Linked DNA regions of Homo sapiens: region 2 is linked to region 1. The links are contacts of gene promoters, found by promoter capture Hi-C in human tissues and cell types (Jung and others, 2019). All regions are on one chromosome and are shown on one strand. Each heading gives the region's core, a stretch centred on a gene start or on the middle of the fragment in contact. The rest is flanking DNA. Distances are from core to core; before and after follow the strand shown. Region 1 holds the start of KCTD17 (potassium channel tetramerization domain containing 17). Region 2 holds the start of GGA1 (golgi associated, gamma adaptin ear containing, ARF binding protein 1).

The links. Contacts are between HindIII fragments. The study calls those that stand out against the background at their distance.
Region 2: the fragment with the promoter of GGA1 here is called in contact with the fragment with the promoter of KCTD17 in region 1 in 1 of the 25 tissues and cell types used here (dorsolateral prefrontal cortex).

What each region holds. Positions count from the first base shown.
Region 1 is chr22:37,050,420-37,053,119 of GRCh38, forward strand. It overlaps KCTD17 (potassium channel tetramerization domain containing 17), which reads left to right and starts at 1,323. Exons shown (of 9, transcript NM_001282684.2): 1 at 1,323-1,530; 2 at 2,681-2,700. The coding sequence starts at 1,342. RefSeq lists silencers at 1,115-1,424, 1,435-1,554 and enhancers at 1,491-2,208, 2,209-2,700. The HindIII fragment of the contact is 12,846 bases long and covers 1-2,700 here.
Region 2 is chr22:37,607,520-37,610,219 of GRCh38, forward strand. GGA1 (golgi associated, gamma adaptin ear containing, ARF binding protein 1) reads left to right here and starts at 1,315. Exons shown (of 17, transcript NM_013365.5): 1 at 1,315-1,384. The coding sequence starts at 1,342. RefSeq lists enhancers at 695-774, 925-1,094, 1,699-2,320, 2,035-2,144 and a silencer at 1,255-1,704. The HindIII fragment of the contact is 29,756 bases long and covers 1-2,700 here.

The DNA.
Region 1 (2,700 bases), core at 73-2,572:
TAGACATTTCATAACTTAATCTTCACAGCAATGCTCTGGGGTCACAACTGTTGTAAATCCCATTTGGCAAGAGAGAAAGCCAATCTCAGAGAGGAAGTTGCTCAGGACACACCTAGTGAATTTTAAGTAGCAGGATTCCAGTACACCTTTGATCCACTCCCTGCCAAGGAGAAAAGCTTTATGCAGAAAGCAGGGCATTGGGTGGTAACAGGGAAACTTCTCCCAGCACAGGGCCAGGCTGCCCAGTGTTCGGGCCAGCTGCGTGTGACATTGGATCAGTGAGAGGAGCCCCAGACCTCTCCCCCATAGGCCAGGACCAGGACTGAAACCAGTAAGGAGAGGAAGCTAAGGAGACAGCTTCCTCGTCAGCCCTTGTCCCTCCCTGGTCCCGGACCACATGAGGAACTGCTCCCTTCCCCCATCCTGAGGTCCACAGAATGACGGTTCCCCTCCGAGTTAACTGGGGAATAACTCAGAAAGCCACCCGCAGAACCAATCCCTCCTCCTTCTTAGGGAGGACGTGGAAAAACTGAGAAAGGCCAAAAGCCAGAATGGAAACTCAGTTCTCCTGACTCGGATCCAGGGCGTGCTCTACTCTTCCTCCTTAGAAGTCTTTCCCAAGGATCCCTGACATTCCATGGTCAGGGAGCAGGAAAGAGACCTTGGTGGGTACTCACTCACCAGCAATGTGAGTAGGGCGGTCACTTCGCTTCTGTGGCTTCATCTGTAAAATGGGTATAGCCCAAAATACCAGACTCACAGGGCTGCTGAGAGCTTAAATTCATAACACATATACACAAAGTGTCTGGCATACAGGTGCTCAGCCAACCTCAAGTCCAGCTATGTCGTTCTCCAAGAACTCAGGTGAGGGAAAGAACCCACTCCCACCCACCCCGCCCCCACCCCTATACACACAAAGGGCAAATGAAAAAATATGACGAAACACATGCGGGTCAATGCTATGGGGATTCCTGGAGGGGAAAGTTTCTTCCCTTATCAGCTGTTGGACGACGGAGACGGCACAAAGGAAAAACAAGAATGCTCGGACCCATGGGATGACTGCAGATTTGGGGAAGCCCTCATTCTTTTCCCAGAGGCCGGGAGTTCGACCTTCCCCATACACAGTGATTTGGCCAGAGGGCATCTTCACCACCCCAGACTGCGGGCCTGCGGGGAAGGGCGAAGCGGGGCGGGACCGGGGGCGGGAGCAGCGCGGGGCGGGACCCTACCCGCGGCCCACGCGGAGCCAGGAGGCGCGGACTACAGCTCCCGGCCTGCCCCGCGTGCGGTCCCCGCCCGCCCCCAGCGCCCGGGAGGAGGATGCAGACGCCGCGGCCGGCGATGAGGATGGAGGCCGGGGAGGCAGCGCCGCCGGCGGGGGCGGGCGGCCGCGCCGCAGGCGGCTGGGGCAAGTGGGTGCGGCTCAACGTGGGGGGCACGGTGTTCCTGACCACCCGGCAGACGCTGTGCCGCGAGCAGAAGTCCTTCCTCAGCCGCCTGTGCCAGGGGGAAGAGCTGCAGTCGGACCGGGTGAGGCCCCCGGGGTGGGCGGCGAGCGGGCGGTGGGTCCTCCGCTCGCCCGACGCGGGGCTGTCGGGCCTGGCTCGCCCGCCAGGCTGGGGACCCGGCCGGGTTCATTTCCGAGGAACTGGAGGCGGGAAGAAGCGGCAGGAGGAGGGGAGGGGGAGGTGGGTCTGGTAGTGAGGGATGTACCCATTGCCGTGGCAACGGGACGACGCAGGCCGCGGCCATTAGAAGCTCTCCAGCCGCCCCGGATCGGGGCCTCTCCTTCTCCTTTGGGGCTGTGGACAGGGAGAGACCTGGGACCTTTCCTCCCTCCCAAAGGGGACTCCTGCTCTGGGGAAGGAGTCGACGAGGCTACTTCTCCCGCTCTTTGGGATGTGGGTGGCGGAGGGGTGCAGGGAGCTAGCTGGATGGAGGAGCCCTGGGGCGCCTTCTGAGCGGGCTGAATCTAGAAGGAGCGTTGGCCCAGCGGGCACTATTTCTGAGCACCCACCCTGACTCTGCTGCACACTGCCTGCCGCGACCTTGAGTCGGACCCTTCCCTGCACTGCGCTCAGCCTCCTTCCTCATCTGTAACACGAAGGGCTGGTCTGAAGATGACCTCTAAGGTCTCCTGTCCCCCATCCGTGACCCTCCGATGCTGTGGCCTTTGGCAAGTCGCCTCACCTCTCAATGTCTCCGATCTCTCTGTAGAGTCGCATGGAAGCCCACCCTGCCTCCCTGCCCGCCCGAGTGTCCAGTGAGATAGTGACTCCTTTGGAAACTTGTAAACATCCCCTGAAAGCCTAGGGACCTGGGGGCGACAGTGGGGCTGGCTTCAGGGGACAGCCTCTCAGAGGGACATTCTTCGAGCCCTGTGCTGGGCCAGTTGCCACTCAGACATCCTCTCACCGGATGCTCACAGCAAACCCTGATTAGGGGGAGAGGAGTGAGTTTCAAAGAGGCCAAATCATTAGCCTAAGGTCACACATTCAGGAAGAGTCAGAAGCAGGGCTTGAACTCAGGTCCATCTGACCCCAGTGCCTTTTTGCTACTTTGTGCCTGCTCCATCCAGGGAAGAGCTCTCCCTCCACTCTCCTTCCCTCCCTGTGCGTGTGCGGGGTTGGCTGGGGAGAAGCCTCACTCTTCTCTCACCGAGCATCCCTCACCTCCATAGGATGAGACCGGGGCCTACCT
Region 2 (2,700 bases), core at 65-2,564, 560 kb after region 1:
GGACCTGGGTGATCTTGCCCCAGCCTAATTCCAAGATATCTCCTGCAAATAGATATCTATTTGCAGATATCTGGGAGCCGTATTGAAATACTTCCAACTCCCTGGACTCATCCTACTTTTTTTTTTTTTTTTTTTTTTGAGACTGAGTCTCGCTATGCCGCCCAGGCTGGAGTGCAGTGACGCAATCTCGGCTCACTGCAACCTTCACCTCCCGGGTTCAAGCGATTCTTCTGCCTCAGCCTTCTAAGTAGCTGGCACTAAAGGCGCGCCCAGATAATTTTTTTTTTTTTTTTTTTTTAGTAGAGACGGGGTTTCACCGTGTTAGGATGGTTTCGATCTCCTGACCTCGTGATCCGCCCTCCTCGGCCTTCATCCTACTTTTTCTCCCTGAATATCTTTTCGCACCAGCTCTACGTGGAGAAATCCGACTGTCTTTGAGCGAAGTACAGTATCACTTTCTCTTGAAACCTCCCCTGACACGACCCCTCCCCTGACACGACCCCTCCCCTGACAACACCCCCACCCACCCCACCCCAGTTTGGGGGAGGAGCCCCCTCCTTTGTTCCCACTACCCCGTGGGCTTCCCCTATCACACTGTAATAAATATCTGGCCTTGTCTATCTCCTTCTGTGCCCATCACAGAGCAAAGCAAATACAAAGAGTTCATTAAACGTTGGCTGGATGAATGGAGGAGACGGCACAGGGTTCAAGCTCTGCTACTTGTGCGGCCTCAGGCCGACTAATTATCTGGTGGGTTTGTTGTAAGGAGTCAGAACTAAATGGATTAATTACAAATAGTGCTTAGGACAATGCCCAGAATACTGTAAGCACTCAAGAAACTGATTTATTTTCGTCATTTTCACAGCGGCCAAGGTACATGAGGATGTAGCTTATCGCCCTTTTAAGGGACTCTCCCACGTTCGACTCTAAGCGGAAGTACCCGCTCAGGGCTCCGGAAGTGGCCTCAGAGCCCCTCAGCAACATGCCCGCAGAGAATTCTTCCGGAGGCGGTCACAGACATCTCCGTGACGCAGAACGAGTTAGAGCGTCCCTTGGGGTTTCCATGGTGCTGCCCTTAGCCTGCAGTATCTCCACTTCCTCTCCCGCCTGAGCGCCGGGAACGGAAAAGCAGGCGGCCGGTCCCAGCTGCGACGTAGACGCCGCGTGGGGGTGGGGTTGGGCGAGTAGGTGACGCTCTAGGCGAGCTCGTTGGCCTCTCTATGGTGCCGAGCGCGCCCGTTCGGACGTTGCCCCTTTAATCGGCAGAGGGCGGTGCCCAGGAGGTCCCGCGAGAGCTGCGGGGGGCGGGGGGGCGGTGCCGAGGCTGGGGGCCGGTGGCGGATGGAGCCCGCGATGGAGCCGGAGACTCTGGAGGCGCGAATCAGTGAGTGTCCGGGAGGGGCGCGGGCCGGACCGGAACCGGAACCGGGGGCACGAGGCGGGCCCCTTCCCGGCGGGGGCGGGGTACGGGTCGCCCCCTCCTCACGCCCCGCCCCCGGCCCGGGAGGGGCGGTGTCCTCAGTCGGCCCCTCAGACCCTGGAGCGATGGAGGACCCCGGCCCCGGCGCGGTCCAGCGGTGGGAGCGGGCGCCGCCCACCTGTCGGATCCCTGGGCCATGACCCCTGGGACGGCGAGTGAGCTGCGCCGGGAACCCCCGGGACGGAGAGAGCAGCCTCCAACCCCCAAGGCTCACATTGCTTCACGGAGTAGCGGCCCGGGGAAGGAGCACGCGAGCGGTTCCCCGGGGTTGCATCTCACACCCGGGAGGGAGGGACCCTACTATTTTCAGGCCCCGAATCCTCCACTCTCTGGCCCTGCATGGCGTTCCTGGAGCCCGCAAGTAGTCACATTTGCTCATTACCCCGTCCTGGAAGGGAGGACCCACTGCCCCATTTGATTCCTCCCGCCGCTCCTAGTCTCTAGCCACATAGTGAGAAACCCCCGCACCCTACAGGCTTGGGAGAGTCTTAGACTCCAGAAGTATTAATAATTCCAAGCTCCCTGTCACTCCCTTCAGCCTAACCCCTCAGTCTCCAAGATGCCTTTCCCAGCTCTTGCTGAACTTCCTTCAAAGGCTTCTACACCCCTTTTTTTCTTGTTTCTCCTCAGACGTAGCTTCCTATTGCTTAGGCTTCCTAGCCCGCAAACCCTCCACCTGAGCTCCTTAACCCACAGCCCTGATGATCCCCTGCTCTCACAGCCCCGCTCCTGGACTCTGCCTCTGAAAGCCGTGGCTGGCTTCTCCCTGGTCTAGTGAGGGTTCTCTCCCAAGGCTTTAACTGCTGTTGGGACCCCGTCGTTGCCAGGGCCTCAGGGAACCCTCTTGGACCCGGGCACACCGGCAACTGTCTAGCGTGGTTTGGGGTCATGGCCGGCCCCTTTTAAGCCAGGCTTGAGCAGAGTTGAACCATGAGGTTGGCCCCAGAACCAAACCTCTAGGGATGTTTCAGAGTCATCCTAGCCACCAGAGGGGCAGGGGGTGGAAAAGGGGCACTCAGCAGCCCTTGACCGTTGTGAACGCCGGAAGTGTCCGCCTGGGTCTCAGCAGCAACTGGGCTGGGGGGATGGGTGGGCCCCTGGCTAACTGATCTCAGACACAGGTCTTGAGCTGTGGGTCATACAAAACATTCTCAGGTTTAGAAACAGTGGGGGTTTTCTGAGAGTCCAGAGAGTCTAAAACCAGGCAGAAGTTAGAGATA